Regions from separate parts of the Homo sapiens genome. Here all the other regions are linked to region 7. The links are contacts of gene promoters, found by promoter capture Hi-C in blood cells and fetal thymus (Javierre and others, 2016). All regions are on one chromosome and are shown on one strand. Each heading gives the region's core, a stretch centred on a gene start or on the middle of the fragment in contact. The rest is flanking DNA. Distances are from core to core; before and after follow the strand shown. Region 1 overlaps LPCAT3 (lysophosphatidylcholine acyltransferase 3). Region 2 has its middle 2.8 kb from the start of C1S. Region 3 holds the start of LOC107984500 (a long non-coding RNA gene). Region 4 holds the start of C12orf57 (chromosome 12 open reading frame 57). Region 5 overlaps TNFRSF1A (TNF receptor superfamily member 1A). Region 6 overlaps EMG1 (EMG1 N1-specific pseudouridine methyltransferase). Region 7 holds the start of ING4 (inhibitor of growth family member 4).

Evidence for each region. The method cuts DNA at HindIII sites, captures the fragments that hold promoters and counts their contacts. A CHiCAGO score of 5 or more calls a contact.
Region 1: a fragment that was not itself captured here is called in contact with the fragment with the promoter of ING4 in region 7 in 3 of 17 cell types (non-activated CD4 T cells, activated CD4 T cells and naive CD4 T cells); the score reaches 7.9 in non-activated CD4 T cells.
Region 2: a fragment that was not itself captured here is called in contact with the fragment with the promoter of ING4 in region 7 in 1 of 17 cell types (activated CD4 T cells); the score reaches 5.3 in activated CD4 T cells.
Region 3: a fragment that was not itself captured here is called in contact with the fragment with the promoter of ING4 in region 7 in 2 of 17 cell types (naive CD8 T cells and non-activated CD4 T cells); the score reaches 6.1 in naive CD8 T cells.
Region 4: a contact is called between the fragment with the promoter of C12orf57 here and the fragment with the promoter of ING4 in region 7, in 2 of 17 cell types (non-activated CD4 T cells and naive CD4 T cells). The highest score is 7.5, in non-activated CD4 T cells.
Region 5: a contact is called between a fragment that was not itself captured here and the fragment with the promoter of ING4 in region 7, in 2 of 17 cell types (naive CD4 T cells and total CD8 T cells). The highest score is 5.1, in naive CD4 T cells.
Region 6: a contact is called between a fragment that was not itself captured here and the fragment with the promoter of ING4 in region 7, in 8 of 17 cell types (non-activated CD4 T cells, naive CD4 T cells, activated CD4 T cells and 5 more). The highest score is 20.2, in non-activated CD4 T cells.

Annotation. Positions count from the first base shown.
Region 1 is chr12:7,011,998-7,014,697 of GRCh38, forward strand. All of the region lies in intron 1 of LPCAT3 (lysophosphatidylcholine acyltransferase 3), which reads right to left. Among named protein-coding and RNA genes, the nearest start is that of LPCAT3, 5.1 kb to the right of the region's middle. The HindIII fragment of the contact is 2,598 bases long and covers 1-2,557 here.
Region 2 is chr12:7,056,577-7,059,276 of GRCh38, forward strand. No RefSeq gene overlaps it. Among named protein-coding and RNA genes, the nearest start is that of C1S, 2.8 kb to the right of the region's middle. The HindIII fragment of the contact is 386 bases long and covers 1,105-1,490 here.
Region 3 is chr12:6,347,898-6,350,637 of GRCh38, forward strand. It overlaps SCNN1A (sodium channel epithelial 1 subunit alpha), which reads right to left. Exons shown (of 13, transcript NM_001038.6): 9 at 1,430-1,508; 10 at 1,267-1,324; 11 at 1,053-1,108; 12 at 830-905; 13 at 1-356. LOC107984500 (a long non-coding RNA gene) reads left to right here and starts at 284. Exons shown (of 4, transcript XR_007063191.1): 1 at 284-370. The HindIII fragment of the contact is 4,954 bases long and covers 1-2,740 here.
Region 4 is chr12:6,942,760-6,945,459 of GRCh38, forward strand. C12orf57 (chromosome 12 open reading frame 57) reads left to right here and starts at 1,263. Exons shown (of 3, transcript NM_138425.4): 1 at 1,263-1,414; 2 at 1,717-1,893. The coding sequence starts at 1,363. It overlaps RNU7-1 (RNA, U7 small nuclear 1), which reads left to right and starts at 1,057; the gene lies at 1,057-1,119. RefSeq lists enhancers at 1,071-1,650, 1,150-1,339, 1,640-1,759, 1,651-2,230, 1,770-1,919 and 1 more and a silencer at 1,553-1,812. The HindIII fragment of the contact is 10,579 bases long and covers 1,202-2,700 here.
Region 5 is chr12:6,330,742-6,333,441 of GRCh38, forward strand. It overlaps TNFRSF1A (TNF receptor superfamily member 1A), which reads right to left. Exons shown (of 10, transcript NM_001065.4): 4 at 2,626-2,700; 5 at 2,328-2,406; 6 at 112-185. Among named protein-coding and RNA genes, the nearest start is that of TNFRSF1A, 10 kb to the right of the region's middle. The HindIII fragment of the contact is 4,278 bases long and covers 1-2,700 here.
Region 6 is chr12:6,973,269-6,975,968 of GRCh38, forward strand. It overlaps EMG1 (EMG1 N1-specific pseudouridine methyltransferase), which reads left to right. Exons shown (of 6, transcript NM_006331.8): 2 at 1,071-1,172; 3 at 1,284-1,425; 4 at 1,822-1,880; 5 at 1,961-2,110; 6 at 2,428-2,700. The coding sequence ends at 2,541. Among named protein-coding and RNA genes, the nearest start is that of EMG1, 3.7 kb to the left of the region's middle. The HindIII fragment of the contact is 838 bases long and covers 1,032-1,869 here.
Region 7 is chr12:6,661,670-6,664,369 of GRCh38, forward strand. ING4 (inhibitor of growth family member 4) reads right to left here and starts at 1,450. Exons shown (of 8, transcript NM_016162.4): 1 at 1,396-1,450. The coding sequence starts at 1,432. RefSeq lists an enhancer at 1,421-1,480. The HindIII fragment of the contact is 5,227 bases long and covers 564-2,700 here.

The sequences.
Region 1 (2,700 bases), core at 9-2,508, 350 kb after region 7:
GACCTGACTTTGGTCCAAAGGGAACTAAACTGCAGGACCTCCTTTGATTTTAAAGGTCGCTAACTTTAGTGATGCTAATTCTGAACCTCTGAGGGATGAATTGTTACCCCCAGCTGCAATTTTTGATCAGTCTAACAGCCAAGCCACCATCATGGCCAAGACTAGGGAACACTCACAGTAAGCAGGGTGGCCATCTGCTCCATTTGGCCAGCTCTAGCTTTGGACACTGAGAGGTGGCTCATATACTGATTGCATCTTGGTTTAACCACTGAGAGTGAAAAGAGAAAAGGACACCAAGGGCATTTATCTTTTCCAGCCCCACATGCTCCTCCCAATCTCAGCGGTAAAGAGCAGGAACTCTGGAGTCAGGCAGAACTCAGTGTGACTTACTCAATCTTTGTAGGGCTGACTTTCCTATCTGTACCAGGAGATCTTAACAGCACTATAATTACCTCACGGGTAACTGGCAGGTTTAGGTGGGGAACTGCCTGTTGACCATTTAGGACAATGTCTGGTACACAGAAAATCCTTAATAAATGCCAGCTATTACTATTATCAAGGGGTAGCAACATTAACATACCCAATCAACGTGAATAAGATCCTCTTCTCTGTATAACCTTTTCCATGGCATTTCATTCCCTCCCTGAGTCAGTTATGATACCAATACTGTCTCCTAAAACTCTGTCTTTAGCCCAGCTTCTTTCCTGAGCTCAAGACCAGGCTTCACAACTCCCAAGATACCTGGAAGTGCCCTTGGAACCTAAAGTGAACCCCAAACCAGATCATTTCCTGGCACTTAAGAGTATCTGATCCTCCACTTGATCTCTGGCATTGGTCAAAGATACCCTTATCTTTCCAGCTACTCAGGCAGGAGGATGGAGTCTTTTTAAAATTACGACTTTATCCTCCAGCTAATAAGTTGCCAAGTCATTCATTCATACATTCACCTATTCAAGTATTTATCGAGCCTTTTCTACAAGCCAAGTAATGTGTTAAACTCTGGGTACACTGTGGTAAACAAAACTTCCATGGTTTCTGTCCTCATCTACAAATATATAATTACAAAGTGTAATATATACTTGGAAGGAAATTCCGGTCAGTATGAGAAAGTGTAACAGGGGACATAATTGAACATGAGAGTCAGGAAAGAACTCAGAGGAAGATGAAAAGGAGTTTGTCAGGTGACTGAAGGGCACTCCAGGCAGCAGGTAAGCGTGTGCAAAGGCTCTGAGGTAGGGAAGCCTTCATGCCTTTCCTGAGGAACTGAACAAAGGCCATGTGGCTAAAAGGTTGTCAGCTTGCTTGGGACGAGGCTGGGGCAGCAGGCAGGGGCTTACCAGCCAGGTATGGAAGCCCCTGAAGGGTTCTGAGCAGGAGAGGCACAGGATCGGATCACTCTGGCTGCTTTTGGAGAGTGGACTGAGGGGGCAAGAACAGAATTAGAGACTAGTCAGGAGGCTACTTGGGTGGTGCTGGTGACAGATGGTTAGTGGCTGTGGTGATGGAGAATAGTAGATGGATCTGAGACACAATCCAGAGGTTGTATTGATAGGATTGGGTGACTGGGATGTGGGGAGTGAGTGAAGAAAGGCAACAAAGCTGATTCTTGGGTTTCAGGCATGAGCAGCTGTGTAGATGACTGTGTCTACAGAATCTACCTTTCAAAAGGTTCCGGTATTCCTAGACCATCTCACAGGAGATGCCCACTTTCTCCTCTCAGCACAGCCACCCTGCCTCCAAGTCATTATAACTTCCTCTCTAGATCACTTCTTTCTCCTTAGTTTCCCTACTACTTGTCTATGCTGACTTCAAATCACCCCAGGCTGTATTATCTTTTTAAATACAGCTCCAGCCATATTATTCCCCACTCAAAAATCTCCAATGTTCCCTATCACCTACGTGAGTACTAACTCTTTACCTTGGCTTTAAAGGCTCTTTAACCTACAGTTCCAGCCTGATTTTCCATCACTTCTTTAAAGTCCTGTTTTAGTCACACTAGACTACTGACTGTTCCTTGGCTGTGTTGCCACATTCACACCTCAGTGCCTCTGCTCATGCTATTCCTTAAGTCTTACCATCTCAGCATGCTGAAACCTTACTCATCTTTAAATGAAATGTCCCATCTTTAAATCTCACAAAGCTCTGTACCTCTCTTATGGTGCTTAAAATTTATTGGGGTTATTAGTATACTTATCTCAGGCCCATTTCCTATACCCTAACAGACCATAATACCTTTGAGTGCAGGGCTCCTGACTCATACTACACCCACTGCTCCTGCCCTTGCAGGGTTAAGAATACTGCTTTACCTGTAGTAGGTGCATGTTACTGAATTTATATGAGCAATTCATGGTATTAGTTACATTAAGGAGTGATGAGATCCAAGCTGTTGAAGGGGAGATGTTTTCTGGTAGTATTTGCCAGCACCAGGGCTCATGGCAAAATTCCTCTTCAGCATCCTTCCATCAAACTCCTTGCAAGCATACACCACACAAACATAAACACACTCCTTTTACAGTCTTCTGACTGCTCAAAATACTCCAGTGCAGCAGTCCACATAAGCTTACTTTTTCTTTGAAGTATTGAATATTAAAAATTGCAGCCTCGGCTGGGCGCGGTGGCTCATGCCTGTAATTTCACGCCTGTAATTCCAGCACTTTGGGAGGCCGAGGCAGGTGGATCACGACGTCAGTAGATTGAGAC
Region 2 (2,700 bases), core at 48-2,547, 390 kb after region 7:
GATAGTTTTGTGACTTTAACATAGACACTTTGGGCTTCAATTACTTTTGACTTTAATGTCATAGTTTCAGTTTGCAATGGGATTTGAACTTTAATTTTGGAGTTTGATTAATGGGAGGGTTATTTGTTGTTCAAATTTGAAAATGGGAGGGTTATTTGTTGTTCAAAACCTTTATTGTTGGCAATCCCTTGTTGGAGCTTCTTAATACCATCATTTAATCTCATTGTGGATCTCCGATAGCTACTTAGATAACATGGCTGCATGAAATTTTATTTTATTTATTTTTGAGACAGGGTCTCACTCTGTTGCCCAGGCTGGAGTGCAGTGGTGTGATCATAGCTCATTGCAGCCTCAAAATCCTGGGCTCAAGTTATCCTCCTCCCTTGGCCTCCTGAGTAGCTGGGACTACAAGTGCGTGCCACTATGCCTGACTAATTTTTTGACTTTTTGTAGAGATGAAATCTTGCTATGTTCCCCAGGCTGGTCTTGAACTCCTGGCATCAAGTGATCCTCTCTTTTTGGTCTACCAAAGTGCTGGGATTACAGCACTTTGGCATGAGCCACTATGCCTGACCAATGAAATTTGAGGTGGGAAACGGAGCACCCAGGCTGAAGTGCAATGCTGTGGTCATAGCTCACTGCAGGCTTGAACTCCTGGGCTCAAGCAATCCTCCTGCCTCTCAGCCTCCTGAGTAGCTGGGACCACAGGATGGCTAATTTTTAAACTTTTTTGTAGAGATGAGGTCTCCCTATGTTGCCTAGGCTGGTCTTGAACTCCCAGCCTCAAGCGATCCTCCCGCCTCAGCCTTCTGAGTTGCTGGGATTACAGGTGTGAGCCACTGCTCCTGGCAATGTATTTCAATTTCGTGGCAAAATTGCAGAAATGAACATAAAACACAGGTGAGGATAGGAGAGTCTAACTTTTCTGGCAAGATCGGGCAGTGTTGAGCTCCAAGGAAAAGGAGAAGGAACCCTGGACACATTGATAAGGCGTCCTCTTTTCCTTGGTATTAACTGAAGCATGCTCTTGATGGGGAGGAAGCTGCTGCTACTGCTGCCGTGTTTGGTGTTTGGAGAAGTTAATATGGTTTGTTATTTGTTAAAAGCTTACTGAGTACCAGGTATATGCTGAATGCTTAGCATACGTTATTTTGTTTAATCTTGGCCACAATGGGCCCTGACAGTGATAGCTGTGTCTGAAGTAGGTGCTATTATTCCCATTTTACACCTGATAAAGCTGGAGCTCAGAGAGGCATAGTAACTTTTTCAAGGTCACACGGCTAAAATGAAAGGTAATGAATGGTTTGAATTCACTTTGGCACATTCAATCAACCAATCCTCAGATACTCACTGAGCGTGTTGTATCAGCCATTATTTTTAGTTGCAAGCAGTAGAAACCAACTCTGGCTGAGTTTAGCAGAAGATGAATTTATTAAAGGGACCCTGGATTGCTCATGGAAATTCCAGGGGAGCTACAGAGCCATTGTGGAAGCTTCCCAGCAGGGACAATGGTCAGAACCTGGCTGCCGCTGCTGCCACTTCTTTGACCATGGCCTGGATGCTTCGGCTTGCAATGCTTACCCACTGGGGCTGGATGCTGGGTGCTGCTGAGAACTCTACCTCCTCTGTGATCTTGCTGTGGCCACCACTGTCCCTACAGGCTCTAGGGTCCCTGCTTCCTGGCATTACTGGCTCTGGATTGAAAGCCTGGGCCTCTGATGAATGGAACGTGTGTGCATGTGAAACTGCCTTTGCAAAGATGATGACAGTGAGGGAAGTCTAGCATGGGTGACTCCATCTTGCCTCTACCCTCACAGGCTGGCTGTCCTCACTCATTCCTGGGCATAGGCCAAGCTAACCATGGGAGGAATTTAGTTTACAGTTTAACTCTGAAGCAAAGATGATATTAGTCCCTCCCTAAAATGAACCCCCTCCTAGCTCAGGGACCTGCCTTTGTAAAACTAATGAAAGGCCACAAGATTAGGATTATGGGAGGGGCTTGAATTTTGCTAAGATGTGGGTGTAGCTAACCGATGACCAGCCATTGACCCCTAGCTTGCCTTTCTATAATCCTTTGCTGCTCAGGAGTCATGCGGCCAGAGGTCACAAGATCTGTGACTTCCCCAATTGCTCCTATAGATAACATCACTATTGTAAAACCAAATATTGGTCTTCTGAGATATTTTTCAGACTTTTGCATTCTGAAATGATTCATGACTCAACTGGTCCTGTGACCCCCACCCAGAGGTGGACTTAGTGCACAAGGTCTGTTTTCTACACTCCTATGATTTTATCCCCAACGAATCAGTAGCACCCATTCTCTGCTCTTACCGCCCACCAAATTCTCCTTAAGAACCCTAGCCTCTGAGTTCTTGTGGGGACTGATTTGAGAAATAAACTCCCATCCTTTCACTTGGCTAGCTCTGTGTTGTTAAACTCTTTCTCTACTGCAATACCATGGTCTCAGTGAATTGGTTTTGTCTACGCAGCAGGCAGGAAGAACCCTTCGGGTGATTACAAATTAGCCTGCTCCAGAGCTGCTGGAGGTGGGGGTGACACACTTCTTGTGCCTGTGTCTTCTTTCTTGGGAGGTCGGCTCTGTTCCCAAGACTGATATCATGGGGAACTCCTCTAATGTGGCAAAGCAGTTTGAATGCTGGGCAGCCAGGGGAGTCACAGATGGTTGCATACACATCTGTG
Region 3 (2,740 bases), core at 107-2,606, 310 kb before region 7:
GAGGAACTGGCCCCTGCAGAGCCCCCTGGAGATGGGCGGGGGCCCAGGGTGGCATAGGCAGGGGGAGGGGCTGTCAAGGCTGGAGAGGGAGCAGGGCCTGGCTGGGACAAGGACAGAGACATGGGGTGGGGGCAGAAGTGGGAAGGAGGGGAGGATGCCAGGGTGGAGGCTACCTCCTGAGCACCCCTGCCCCCTCGGCCTGGAGACCAGTATCGGCTTCGGAACCTTCGGAGCAGCATGAGGAACATGATGACCAGCAGGTCAAAGACGAGCTCAGCCATCTCCACCACAGACAACACCGAGGAGCCGAACCACAGGCTCCACTGGCTGCCCAGGTTGGACAGGAGGGTGACCATCTGTGAGAGGAGAGGTACATTGACGATGGGACAGAGGGTTCTGGATGGACTCTGGCAGAGGAGCCCCCTTCCCTCCTCACCAAGCTGTCTCCCTTCATCCCTGAAGACCCCCGAGTCCTCTCAGCCTCTCAGCAGCCCCCTGGGCTCTTTGTCTCTGCTCCTGGCCAGTGTCACCCAGAGAAAACTGATAACTGGCCCACAGTTAGGGGCAGCTGAAATGGGGGCATGGGTCAAGCGCCTTCACCCCAGCATCTAGCATGCCTGTCCCTCCCACCACCCCCAGAGACCTTATGCCCCGGCCGAGCTCCTTCTTCCAACCCTCCCAACCTCTCCCTTGACCCTCTTCTTTGGTCCCCTGCCTTTGAGACTCAGAGCCTTCTGGCCCACAGAGACAACCTTTTGGTTTTCCCCGACAGCCGCCCTGCTAAGTAAGACCCCCAGAGCATCACAGGCTCCATCCAGGCACGACCTACCGTGACAGAGGGAGACTCAGAATTGGTTTTGTAGTTCAGCTCCTTGAAGAAGATGTTGACTTTGGCCACTCCATTTCTTAGGTGTGGGGCAGAGGGTGGGAAGAAATGGTAGAGGATGAATTTCCTGGACCTTCCTCTAATCAACCATATCGATCCCTCTTCTTAGGTCTATTTTCCCTCCCAAAGATTCCCTTCTTGTGGCTGGGACCAGGGCAGGACTGACCTCTTGTTGTTGACGGTGTAATTGTTCTGTCGCGATAGCATCTGGAAGACCCATTCCTAGGAAAGAATGGGGGTGTCATCAAGGTCACTCCCATATGCTTCAGGCTTACAGGGATAGGGTTGTGTCAAACACACTCATACACATAATACCCAGAGAAGGCCACAGCATTACATGGGCACACACATCCCCCACCCATCCCTTCCCCACACTCTACCTGGGATGTCACCGAGGGCCATCGTGAGTAACCAGCAGAGAGCTGGTAGCTGGTCACGCTGGGGATGGAGAAAGGTGCTCAGTGTTGGGGCAGAGCTCTCCCAAATGCTTGGCTCGGTAACCTGTATTCTACCCAACCTGTACCCGGGGAAGGGGACACTAACCTGCATGGCTTCCGGCACTTGGTGAAACAGCCCAGGTGGTCTGAGGAGAAGTCAACCTGGAGCTTATAGTAGCAGTACCCTGTGGGTACAGAGAGATGCCTGTTCTCCTAGGGCACCTCAGCTTTCTCTACCCCACACCCAAGAGGTCTCCCAAGATCCCTGGGTACCCACTTTACAAGAGCATTATTTAGCATTATAATGATGCCTTATGAGTGGCAGTACCAAGAAGCGTTTAAGAAATTAAGCTAAGCCAGGGACAGTGGCTCAGCACTTTGGGAGGCCGAGGTGGGAGGGTCGTTTGAGGCCAGGAGTTCAAGGTTGCAAGTGAGCTATGAGTGTGCCTTTGTACTCCAACTCTGGCAACAGAGTGAGACCTTGTCTCTAAAAAAAAAAATTTTTAATAAATTAATTTTTTTTTTAGACGGAGTTTCGCTCTGTTGCCCACGCTAGAGTGCAGTGGCGCAATCTTGGCTCACTGCAAGCTCCGCCTCCCGGGTTCATACCATTCTCCTGCATCAGCCTCCGGAGTAGCTGGGACTACAGGCGCCCGCCACCACGCCCGGCTAATTTTTCGTATTTTTAGTAGAGATGGGGTTTCTCTGTGTTAGCCAAGATGGTCTCGATCTCCTGACCTCGTGATCTGCCCGCCTCGGCCTCCCAAAGTGCTGGGATTACAGGTGTGAGCGACCGCACCTGGCCTAAAAAATAAATTAATAAAGAAAGAAAATAAGCTAAGTCAGGCGAAAAACAAAACAGGATACACCAGTGTAAGGAAATATATGCTATGGACAAAAACATAAACGCCATAAAGAAAAATGGGAACAGGCCGGGCGTGGTGGCTCACGCCTGTAATCCCAGCACTTTGGGAGGCCGAGGCGGGTGGATCACGAGGTCAAGAGATCGAGACCATCCTGGCTAACACGGTGAAACCCCGTCTCTACTAAAAATACAAAAAATTAGCCGGGCGTGGTGGCGGGCGCCTGTAGTCCCAGCTACTCGGGAGGCTGAGGCAGGAGAATGGCGTGAACCCGGGAGGCGGAGCTTGCAGTGAGCCGAGATCGCGCCATTGCACACTCTAGCCTGGGCGACTGAGCGAGACTCCGTCTCAAAAAAAAAAAAAAAGAAAAGAAAAATGGGAACAATAATTGTATAAGAATAAGGGAATTAAGCCACAATAAGATACCACTTCACACCCATTAAGATGTGTGTTATTTAAAAAAAGACAATAGGCTGGGTGCGGTGGCTCACGCCTGTAATACCAACACTTTGGGAGGCTGAGGCAGGTGGATTACCTGAGGTCAGGAATTCGAG
Region 4 (2,700 bases), core at 13-2,512, 280 kb after region 7:
TGGGGGTCGAGGCTACAGTGAGTCATGATCGCACCACTGCACTCTAGCCTGGGTGACAGAGCAAGGCCCTATCTCAAAACAAACAAACAAAAGACACCCCAACCAACCAAACACTAGAGGCCTGGGACAGGCCCACCTCTGACGTGGTCAGTTCTAGGAATCTATTCAGACGGGTCTCACTGCTAGGAGCCACCAGAGTCCTCCGGAACAAGGGCTTCAGAGTCCTGAAACCTTTCCGTGGAATACTTTAAGAAACGGTTATGAGGCCAGGCGCGACGGCTCACGCTGGTAATCCCAGGACTTTGGGAGGCCGAGGCGGGCGGATCACGAGGTCAGGAGTTCCAGACCAGCTTGGCCAACATGGCAAAACCCTGTCTCTACTAAAAACAAAACATTAGCTGGGCATGGTGGCGCGCGCCTGTCGTCCCAGCGACTTGGGAGGTTGAGGCAGGAGAATCGCTTGAACCCGGGAGGTGGAGGTTATGGTGAGCCAAGATCCCCCCCAGCTGCACTCCAGCTTGGCGACAGAGCAAGACTCCGTCTCAAAAACAAAAAACAAAGCCGGTTATGAAGCGGGGGTGGGGTGGGCTAGTTTTAATAGGTCCAGGCGATTAGTACCTGGCATCCTTAACCACCTACAGTTTGAGAAGGGAGTGGGTGATAAAAGCCTGGAAGGGAAGGGAAATCGGGCCGGGCATTAGGCTCCATCGCTCATCAATAGACAAGGCCTTTAGGAAACTGCGACAACGGCTTTTGCTCTGGGCCTTTACTGCCGAATCCAGGTCTCCGGGCTTAACAACAACGAAGGGGCTGTGACTGGCTGCTTTCTCAACCAATCAGCACCGAACTCATTTGCATGGGCTGAGAACAAATGTTCGCGAACTCTAGAAATGAATGACTTAAGTAAGTTCCTTAGAATATTATTTTTCCTACTGAAAGTTACCACATGCGTCGTTGTTTATACAGTAATAGGAACAAGAAAAAAGTCACCTAAGCTCACCCTCATCAATTGTGGAGTTCCTTTATATCCCATCTTCTCTCCAAACACATACGCAGCAGTGTTACAGCTCTTTTAGAATTTGTCTAGTAGGCTTTCTGGCTTTTTACCGGAAAGCCCCTCTTATGATGTTTGTTGCCAATGATAGATTGTTTTCACTGTGCAAAAATTATGGGTAGTTTTGGTGGTCTTGATGCAGTTGTAAGCTTGGGGTATGAAGGTTTGGGCCACGCCTGGGCGCTTCCGGCTGCGCCGGATGCTGTTTCCTTTCCGCTCCCAGGGGCGTTGGGAACGGTTGTAGGACGTGGCTCTTTATTCGTGAGTTTTCCATTTACCTCCGCTGAACCTAGAGCTTCAGACGCCCTATGGCGTCCGCCTCGACCCAACCGGCGGCCTTGAGCGCTGAGCAAGCAAAGGGTGAGAATCGTCCTAGTCAAGGCATAGGCTGCTGGCCTGGGGTAGTCAAGGCATGGGCTGCTGGTCTGGGGAGGATGCGGGCGGAGGATGTGGGGCGACAAACCTGGCTACGTCCGCCGGGAAAATGGGGTAGGGGACGCCGGGTACCGTCCTTCTAAGTGGGGCGCTTGCCCCCAAGACTTGGGATCTTATTGGGTTACCTACAGCCTCAATCCACTAATTCCTTGCGCTCTCCGCTGGGCCCGCTGTCTGTTCTCCGACGCCTACCCGGGACGCCTCCCTGGGATGCTTCTGGCGCGCAGTGGTCCTCGCGGAGGTGATCCAGGCGTTCTCCGCCCCGGAGAATGCAGTGCGCATGGACGAGGCTCGGGATAACGCCTGCAACGACATGGGTAAGATGCTGCAATTCGTGCTGCCCGTGGCCACGCAGATCCAGCAGGAGGTTATCAAAGCCTATGGCTTCAGCTGCGACGGGGAAGGTGGGTCAGACGCGGGAAGGCGGGTCAGACGCGGGAAGGCGGGAGTTGGGTCGGGAGAGGGCGCCGGATCTGTGGGCCCATGAGCGGTTGTCCCCTTTCTCGCCACACGGCGGCAGCCACAATCTGACTAACATTCTTGGCACTCAGAGCCCAGGGTCTACCCTGAGCTTGTGCGTCCGAGTTGCGTTTTGTACAGTAGAGGTTCTGTATCCCTTACCCGAAATGGTTGGGACCGGAAGTGTTTCGGGTTTTTTCAGATTTCGGAATATTTACATATACATGGATATCTTGGGGGATGGGACCTAAATCTGAACACGAAATTGTTTTGTTTCATATACACGCACCTTATGCACATAGCCTGAGGGTAATTTTATATAATAGTCTGAATAATTTTGTGCATGAGACAAAGTTTTGACTGCGTTTTGACTACAGTCTCCCCCACCCCCCACTATGAAGTCAGGTGTGGAATTTTCCATTTTCGGCCTCACACTGGCACTCATAATTTCAGATTTTGGATTTTCTAATTAAGGATGGTCAACCTGTACTGTTAATCACATTATTATTCCATTTTGTGATGAGGAAGCAAACTCTAATGGTGCAGACTCTCGAGTAGCAGAGCTGGACTTAAATGCTGTTGTGCCACCTTTTAGTGACATGTCTGCATGACAGCAGTGGCTGCAGTCTCTCCAGGGTGTTTCAGCTAATTTTTGTTTGGGGGGGGTTGGTGGTTAAATTTTTGGTGAGATCCTGGTGTTCCCCAAAGGTGTTGACTGATTCAGCTCTGCTGCCTCATAGCCTTCCTGAGTT
Region 5 (2,700 bases), core at 166-2,665, 330 kb before region 7:
GCGGGCAGAGGGGGGCCGCAGGGATAGATGGATGGGTGGGATGGATGGACGGGTGGGGGCAAGAAGAGGGAGAGGGCAGGTGAGCATGGGCACCAGGTCACTTCTCCTCACCTGAGTCCTCAGTGCCCTTAACATTCTCAATCTGGGGTAGGCACAACTTCGTGCACTCCAGGCTTTTCTTACAGCTAAAAGAAGAGACGGCACTGGTGAACAGAGGCCCTACCATTGGAGGAACACAGAAAAACAACCACACAGATTGTTGGACATCCTTTCTTTACAAATATTTTTGCTGTCTCTTGATATAATTTGTTTTGGGAACTGATGCAGAAGAATGAAACACAGTTAATCATAGAATCATTTAATTTTAGAATTGGCAGGGATCTTGAAAAGGCTGTGTAGAAAATGTGAAAAGCAGTCAGGGTCAGGGTGTAAATTCCAGTTCATTCCTTGGCTAGCAGTGTGAATCTAGGCAAGCCATTAACCCCCAAGCCTCGGTTTCCTCATCACCACAGGGATCGCCCACCTCTCAGGATTGAGGATTAAGCAAAATCATTATGCCTCATTTAATAAGTGCTTGAGAAGGTAGCCAGCTAGCTGTTATGGGATTGTTGTTTCATCACTGTTTTGCTGATAAGAATCCTTTGGCAAAGAGAGGTTAAAGGGCTTTTTCTTAAATGACACTGCTAGTTACAGTACCTGACTTCGGGGAGTCGGGGTCAAACATGCATGTGAAAAATTTAAAAACACATGTTACTGGGGCAGCCAGAGAGCACCCTGTAGAACTAGCAGATCTTCCATGTTGGGAGTTGTCACTGGACAGTGTGGAGTGATGGGAACTCTATGGGGTGGTGCTGGAAGGAACTTGAGAGAGTGAGTTCCCAGCAGGAAGCTGAAAGCAGGGAGAGGCACTTTAGCCCACCACTCAAGCTCATGGTGAGAACCACATAGAATGGTATAAAAGTGATTTCAAGAAGAGATGAAGCCGGCTGGGTGCAGTGGCTCACGGCTGTAATCCCAGCACTTTGGGAGGCAGAGGCAGGTGGATCACCAGGAGTTTGAGACCAGCCTGACCAAGATGGTGAAACCCCATCTCTACTAAAAATACAAAAATTAGCCAGGCATGGTGGCACGTGCCTGTAATCCCAGCTACTTGGGAGGCTGAAGCAGGAGAATTGCTTGAATCTGGGAGGCAGAGGTTGCAGTGAGCCGAGATCGCGCCACTGCATTCCAGCCTGGGCGACAGAGCAGGACTCTGTGTCAAAAAAAAAAAAAAAAAAAAAAAAGAAGATTAATGGAAAATAAATAGTTTTGTGTCAGACGTGTTGTAGGTTTTGTTTGTTTCTTTGTTTTTGGTTCTCACAAATTCACCAAATGAATGTCATTATGCTTACTTTAAATATAAGAAATCTAAGGCCCAGGCCAGGCGTGGTGGCTCATGCCCGTAATCCTAGCACTTTGGGAGGCTGAGGCGGAAGATCGCTTGAGCCCAGGAGTCCGAGGCCAGCCTGGGCAATATAGTAGGACCCTGTCTCTACAAAAAGTAAAACATTAGCTGGGTGTAGTGGTGTGTGCCTCTAATCCCAGCTACTCAGGAGGCTAAGGCAAGAGGATGGCTTGAGCCCTGGAGGTGGAGGCTGAGCCACGGTTGCACCACTGCACTCCAGCCTGGGTGACAGAGTGAAACCCTGTCTCAAAAAAAAAAAAAAAAAAAAAACACCAAAAGAAAAGTCAGGCTCAGAGATGTTAAGAAACTTGCCCAACGTCACATAGCCAGTAAGTGGCTATGCTGGGGTTCAAACTCTGAGAGCCCTCAGAGTTTATTCTTTGCAAGTGAGTGACAAGAACAGCCTCTGTGGAGCCAGGAGTAAGGAGGCCTGGACAGTGACTAATGAGGAAATACCATATTGCATCAAACCTAAGACGCCATCAAGAATAAAAGGCACTTTTCTTTACATTACTACCCAGACGCAAACAGAGCTGCCAATTCAACCATGATGAGTCACCAGTTATAGGAGGTTTGATTTCAGAGCTATAAGAGTGTATGTCCTAGAACCAATGAGCTATCGTAGATCCAAGAATCTACATATCTGAGTTGGAAGGGCTGCCAGCCCTTGGGGCATGATCTTCCATCCTCAAAGACTTCTTCAGATTTGAAGAGCAAGGGGAAGGACTGCCTGGTGTCTTAACGAAGTGTCTCCTACTCAGCCAGTAGGACCCTGAGCACTCTGGGGCATCCTGGCATCTGTTGCCCAGCTAATGGTTCCCACCAGTCACCCGTCCCAACCCATGCCACCATCCAGTGCCCAGCAGCTCTCAGAGATACTCACTTACTACAGGAGACACACTCGTTTTCTCTTAGAAAGAAACCTGCATGGCAGGTGCACACGGTGTTCTGTTTCTCCTGGCCTGTAGGGAGAAGTGCGGCACAGCTAAAGGAGAAGCGCCTGCACCCCCACCCCACAGGACAGAGGAAGTGACGAGGGACAGGGTGGGGGCGGCCAGAGAGGAGTTGGTTGTCAGACCCACAGAATACAGGAGGGGGAAGGAAAGGAAGTGCCACCGCATGGGGAAGGGGCCAACCCCTGGGGTGGGGAGAGGGCTTGGCCTCAGGAGAGCTGCGCTCACAGGAGAGGTGCACGGTCCCATTGAGGCAGAGGCTGCAATTGAAGCACTGGAAAAGGTTTTCACTCCAATAATGCC
Region 6 (2,700 bases), core at 201-2,700, 310 kb after region 7:
GCCATCCTCCCACCTTAGCCTCCCAAGTAGCTAGGACTACAGGCATGTGCCACCATGCCCAGCTAATTTTTGTATTTTTAGTAGAGATGGGGTTTCGCCATGTTGCCCAGGCTGGTCTTGAACTCCTGACCTTAAGTGATTTGCCTGCCTTGGCCTCCCAGAGTGCTGGGATTACAGCCGTGAGCCACTGCATCTGCCCCCATGCCCGTCTTAAAACTGGGAATAACCCCTCTTCCTTTTACTTCTGAGAGTTTTCTTTGATTAAACTGCCTCCTGCATCATTAGTTTTCACATTTCTTTTTTTTGAGATGGAGTCTCGCTCTGTTGCCCGGGCTGGAGTGCAGTGGCGCTGCAAGCTCCGCCTCCTGGGTTCATGCCATTCTCCTGCCTCTGCCTCCCAAGTAGCTGGGACTACAGGCGCCTGCCACCATGCCCGGCTAATTTTTTATATTTTTAGTAGAGATGGGGTTTCACCGTGTTAGCCACGATGGTCTCAATCTCCTGACCTTGTGATCTGCCCGCCTCGGCCTCCCAAAGTGCTGGGATTACAGGCGTGAGCCACCACGCCCGGCCTTCACATTTCTTGTTCAGATTTGCAGCTCTTCACTTAGTGCATGTTTGGTGTACGCAAACTGAGGGTGGTGACTCGATATTTTGCACAGTACCTACTTACTGCTCCTGTAATAAACACAGCATTCAGCCTTGCTAACTACTAACTCCTGCCTAGTTCCAGGATGTCTCATTGGCCTTGCCTAACAGCCACAGGTTTTTTAATTAAATCCAGTGTATTAGTAGATAATGTGAAGTCACAGGTTGTGCCCTTCCTCCTGTTTCCCTCTCAGACCATTCACTGGGGAGTGCAAATAAGGCTGCACAGTAATCCCCCGAAGGGCTTGCTGGGCTCCACCCCCAGTGTTCCTGGTTTAGTAGGTCTAGGGTGGGCCTGAGAATTTGCCTAACAAGTTTCCAGGTGCAGCTGCTGCTGGTAGTTTGGGGACCACACTTGAAGAACCACGGGGCTAGGTAACAGAAGCTTATGCTGTTCTCTCGTCATGTTCCCTGTTCTTCAGGTAGGGAAGACATATGAGCTACTCAACTGTGACAAGCACAAGTCTATATTGTTGAAGAATGGACGGGACCCTGGGGAAGCGCGGCCAGATATCACCCACCAGGTAACTCCAGGGACAGTGCTCACAACCCTTTGAGCCTCTGTATGGAAGGGTTGGCAGCTGAGTGCTGCCTCTCTTCAGCCTTAACCATGTCTCGGTTTCTGCTTTGCTCAGAGTTTGCTGATGCTGATGGATAGTCCCCTGAACCGAGCTGGCTTGCTACAGGTTTATATCCATACACAGAAGAATGTTCTGATTGAAGTGAATCCCCAGACCCGAATTCCCAGAACCTTTGACCGCTTTTGTGGCCTCATGGGTAAGAAGCCTTAGAACAAAGTTAGAATGAACTTGTCAGTAGGGAAGAAGGGAGGAAGAGGAAAAGGGAGAACTAAATGTGGATTTTTAAGCGAGAAAATGGGAGAACAACATGATTAATACCAGGACAAGGACTGTTATTATTTTTCTATGTTTGTGGAAACTCCACTCCTGTTCTTGCAGTAGCTTCCTGGCTGAGTGAAAGAGGGAGTCTGAACCCATCACTGTACAGCTAGCCATATGCTTGGCAACTGTTTGTTCCTAACATTTCAGGAGTCCAGTCTAGATATAAAGCACACAGGGAACTCATCTTATCCATGGGGTTTTCCTTGTTCGATGACTGGACAGAAGGACTGTGGTCTCCATCTAGCTCTGAACTCTTTTTTCCCCCTTCTAGTTCAACTTTTACACAAGCTCAGTGTTCGAGCAGCTGATGGCCCCCAGAAGCTTTTGAAGGTGAGGTATTGAAACCTGTTAGTTGAAGGCTGGTTCTGGGAATGTTTCTGGGGCTGACTTTTCTCTCTTTTTTACTTTAGGTAATTAAGAATCCAGTATCAGATCACTTTCCAGTTGGATGTATGAAAGTTGGCACTTCTTTTTCCATCCCGGTTGTCAGTGATGTGCGTGAGCTGGTGCCCAGCAGTGATCCTATTGTTTTTGTGGTAGGGGCCTTTGCCCATGGCAAGGTAAGGTCTGGGCTCAACCCTGAAATTCTTGGTAGAGCTGAACTTAGTATAGAATTCCCAGAGCAGTAGGCATTTTAACAATGCTTACAATGAGCTAGAAGACACATGACAGTTCCACACCCTGCCCCAGGGCACATCCTTTGAGGGCTGCTGCCATAATTGGAAGTCACAGTTAGGACCTTCTTCATCCTTTGTAGGGATTTGATATTCAACAGCACAGCTGAAATACTAGCTCAGCCATAGTTTTCCTGCCCTAAAGAAGGGCTGAAACAGCTACTGAGTGACAGAGTTGGCTGACAAAACTGTTCTTTTCTTAGGTCAGTGTGGAGTATACAGAGAAGATGGTGTCCATCAGTAACTACCCCCTTTCTGCTGCCCTCACCTGTGCAAAACTTACCACAGCCTTTGAGGAAGTATGGGGGGTCATTTGACAGTAGTAGAACCTGTTCTGAAACCAGAAACTGTTGATGTCACATCCTTTGACCCTGGTCTGAGCTGACTGCTGGAAGATGATCTTTCTGCACTGAGACTGTGGAGTTTGGGGAAGCCAAGGCTGTACATTTGCTATTTGTTTATCCTATGAATACTGT
Region 7 (2,700 bases), core at 200-2,699:
CCCGCCTTGGCCTCCCAAAGTGCTGAGATTACAGGCATGAGCTACTGTGCCCAGCCTGTCTACCTCACTTTCTAAGCAGGAAGAAGCCACCTTAGATTCTTCCTTCTCTCTCAACCACTCAGTCATTCAGTCAGTCCTTTCATATTTAACTCCTAAATACTTCTGTAACTCCCTAAAATCAGGTTCTTATCTCTGTCCTGGAATGTTATCACTAATTGATCTCTGTTATCAACAATATCATGCTCCAATTTACCATATATTAGTCATTTTCCTCTATAAAAATCATACTCTACTTTAAAATGCAAACTTCTTCGTTTGGCTTAAAAGACCTTGTCCAATCTAGCCTCAGCCTCTTTCTCCAGTCTCCTTTCTCAATTTCTTACCTTAGATTCATAAATATCAAATACGCTGACCTCTGAGTCATAAATATCAAACACCCTTGACCTTGCCACAAACCCATCACAGTACCTTTGCGGATGCTTTCCCCAACCTGGAATTCCTTTTTTCTCTCCTCACTGGCAAATAACCTTCAAGACCCTATTCAAACATCACCTCCGCTGTAAAGCTTTTCCTACATCCCCAGGTAATTACCCCCCTTTTCTCCAGGGTTGCCTACCAAGTGTCCTTTTTAATGTATTTCCATTATCTCACTTGTCACAGTGTTTTATAATTATTTGCAGAATCTGTTTCCTACTAGATCGTGAGCTTCTTGAGGGCAGGAGCCTTGTCTTACTCATTTTTCTATCCCTAGTGCCTGCCATTATGTCTGACCCATAGCAGGACCTCAATAAATATTTGTTGAATAAATGACTCCGGGCCCTAAAACAAATGTAAGCGCACAGAGCAATAGGCTTTCTGCAGGGGTGGTTTACATAAATCGCATAAACACCAGATTTTCATTTGATGGGAATTAGATCTTTACTCCATGAAGAGAAGCGTTCTAGTTCATCATCTGACAGTGGTCACTCATCACCACCACTCTCAACCCCATGAGAAGCCACTTTTGAGGAAGAATGGAGTGGAGGAGAGGTCTTTACCGCTTCTCCAAATGGCAGTGTGTGATAACGATTCTGAACGACTATGGGGAAAAAAATCTACCGAGGCTGGAGACCCTGGAGAATGGGGGCAGCAACTATCTTCCTGGCCATGCACACTAGCCCTTCAAGACACGTCTCTAACCCCCACACCGCACCCCTCCCTCGTCTACACCCATCAGCGGGGCCTCGATCCTGCTGCCCCGCCCCCTCTTTCTCCGCACCCTCCAATATTTCCTGCCACAGAACCGCTTCATAATTGTGACCTTCTCGTCACTGGAACTTAAGGGCTACAGATCCTCTCATCCCTGATCCCCGCACCACTCTGCAGCCCCGACCCCCACCTCCAGCCTGCTCTTACTGTCCAGATAATGTTCCAAATACATCCCCGCAGCCATCTCGAAGCAAAACAAAGCAACTTCCGATCCGCCCCGGAAGTGACTGTAACGCGACAGGGGCCGAAGCCATTTTGCGGCTAAAGCCTTTCCGCCCTTAAAAGGAGAACTTCCGCCCTTAAAAGGAGAACTTCCGCCCTTAAAGGAGAACTTCCGCCCTTACTATATTACCGCCGGTACACATCCGCCCGACACTGAAACTTTTCCTTTTGCATGGTAGCCACGACCGCCCACAGTGAGGCGGCTGTAGCCCGCTTCCGCCCTTACAGACACCCCAGGACGCGACCGAGACAGGTATGACGTCACTGGAGGTCGCCATTTTGCATTCTCTAGCAAACTTTTTTCCCTCCAAAACGGGAATGTATGGTAATCCGTGCAGGGGTAACTGTTCACTTTAGGCTCATATTGCGTAAACATACCTTCTCAGCAACTGGAAGATCCAACTTTTTTTCCCTCTTTTGCAGAATGACTTTTTTCAAGCCAGTTAGTTTCTTAAGGAAGTTGGGGAAGAGTATCAGGCCTTGAGACATTTAAACCGTCTGAATTTCTATTCACTCACACAAACACCATCTCCCCCAGCATTATTTTTTTAACTTGAGAAAGATGATCACCTTTCTACTTATAAATACAAAGAATGACTCATAATAAAGCTATAATTCTGCACATCTTTTGTCAGAGCTCCTGTACGTTACACTAGAATACACTTTCACATATAAAATATTACTTCCTGCCTTGCCCTCTTGCTTTTTTTTTTTTTTTTTTGAGACAGAATTTTCACTCTTATTGCCCAGGCTGGAGTGCAATGGCGTGATCATGGCTCACCGCAACCTCCACCTCCCGGGTTCAAGTGATTCTTCTGTCTCAGCCTCCCGTGTAGCTGGGATTACAGGTATGCACCATCACGCCAGACTAATTTTGTATTTTTAGTAGAGATGGGGTTTCTCCATGTCGGTGAGGCTGGTCTCGAACTTCCGACCTCAGGTGATCTGCCCACCTCAGCCTCTCAAAGTGCTGGGATTACAGGTGCGAACCACTGTGCCTGGCCCCTCTTGCTACTCTCTAAGGGGGAAATCTCGTGTTTTTGTTTTCCTTTTGTTTATATGTGATGTTAGCATCATAATTCTGAAGGGATTGAGGGATGCAGCAGTATCACTACTGGGCTAGTTGGCTAGTTAGTTGCTAGCCATCACTCTAGTCAGCTATGGTAGAGTGATTTCTATGGTTTTCATCAGAATGGGAAGCAGTCAAGGGTATGAGAGGCTGCCAACACA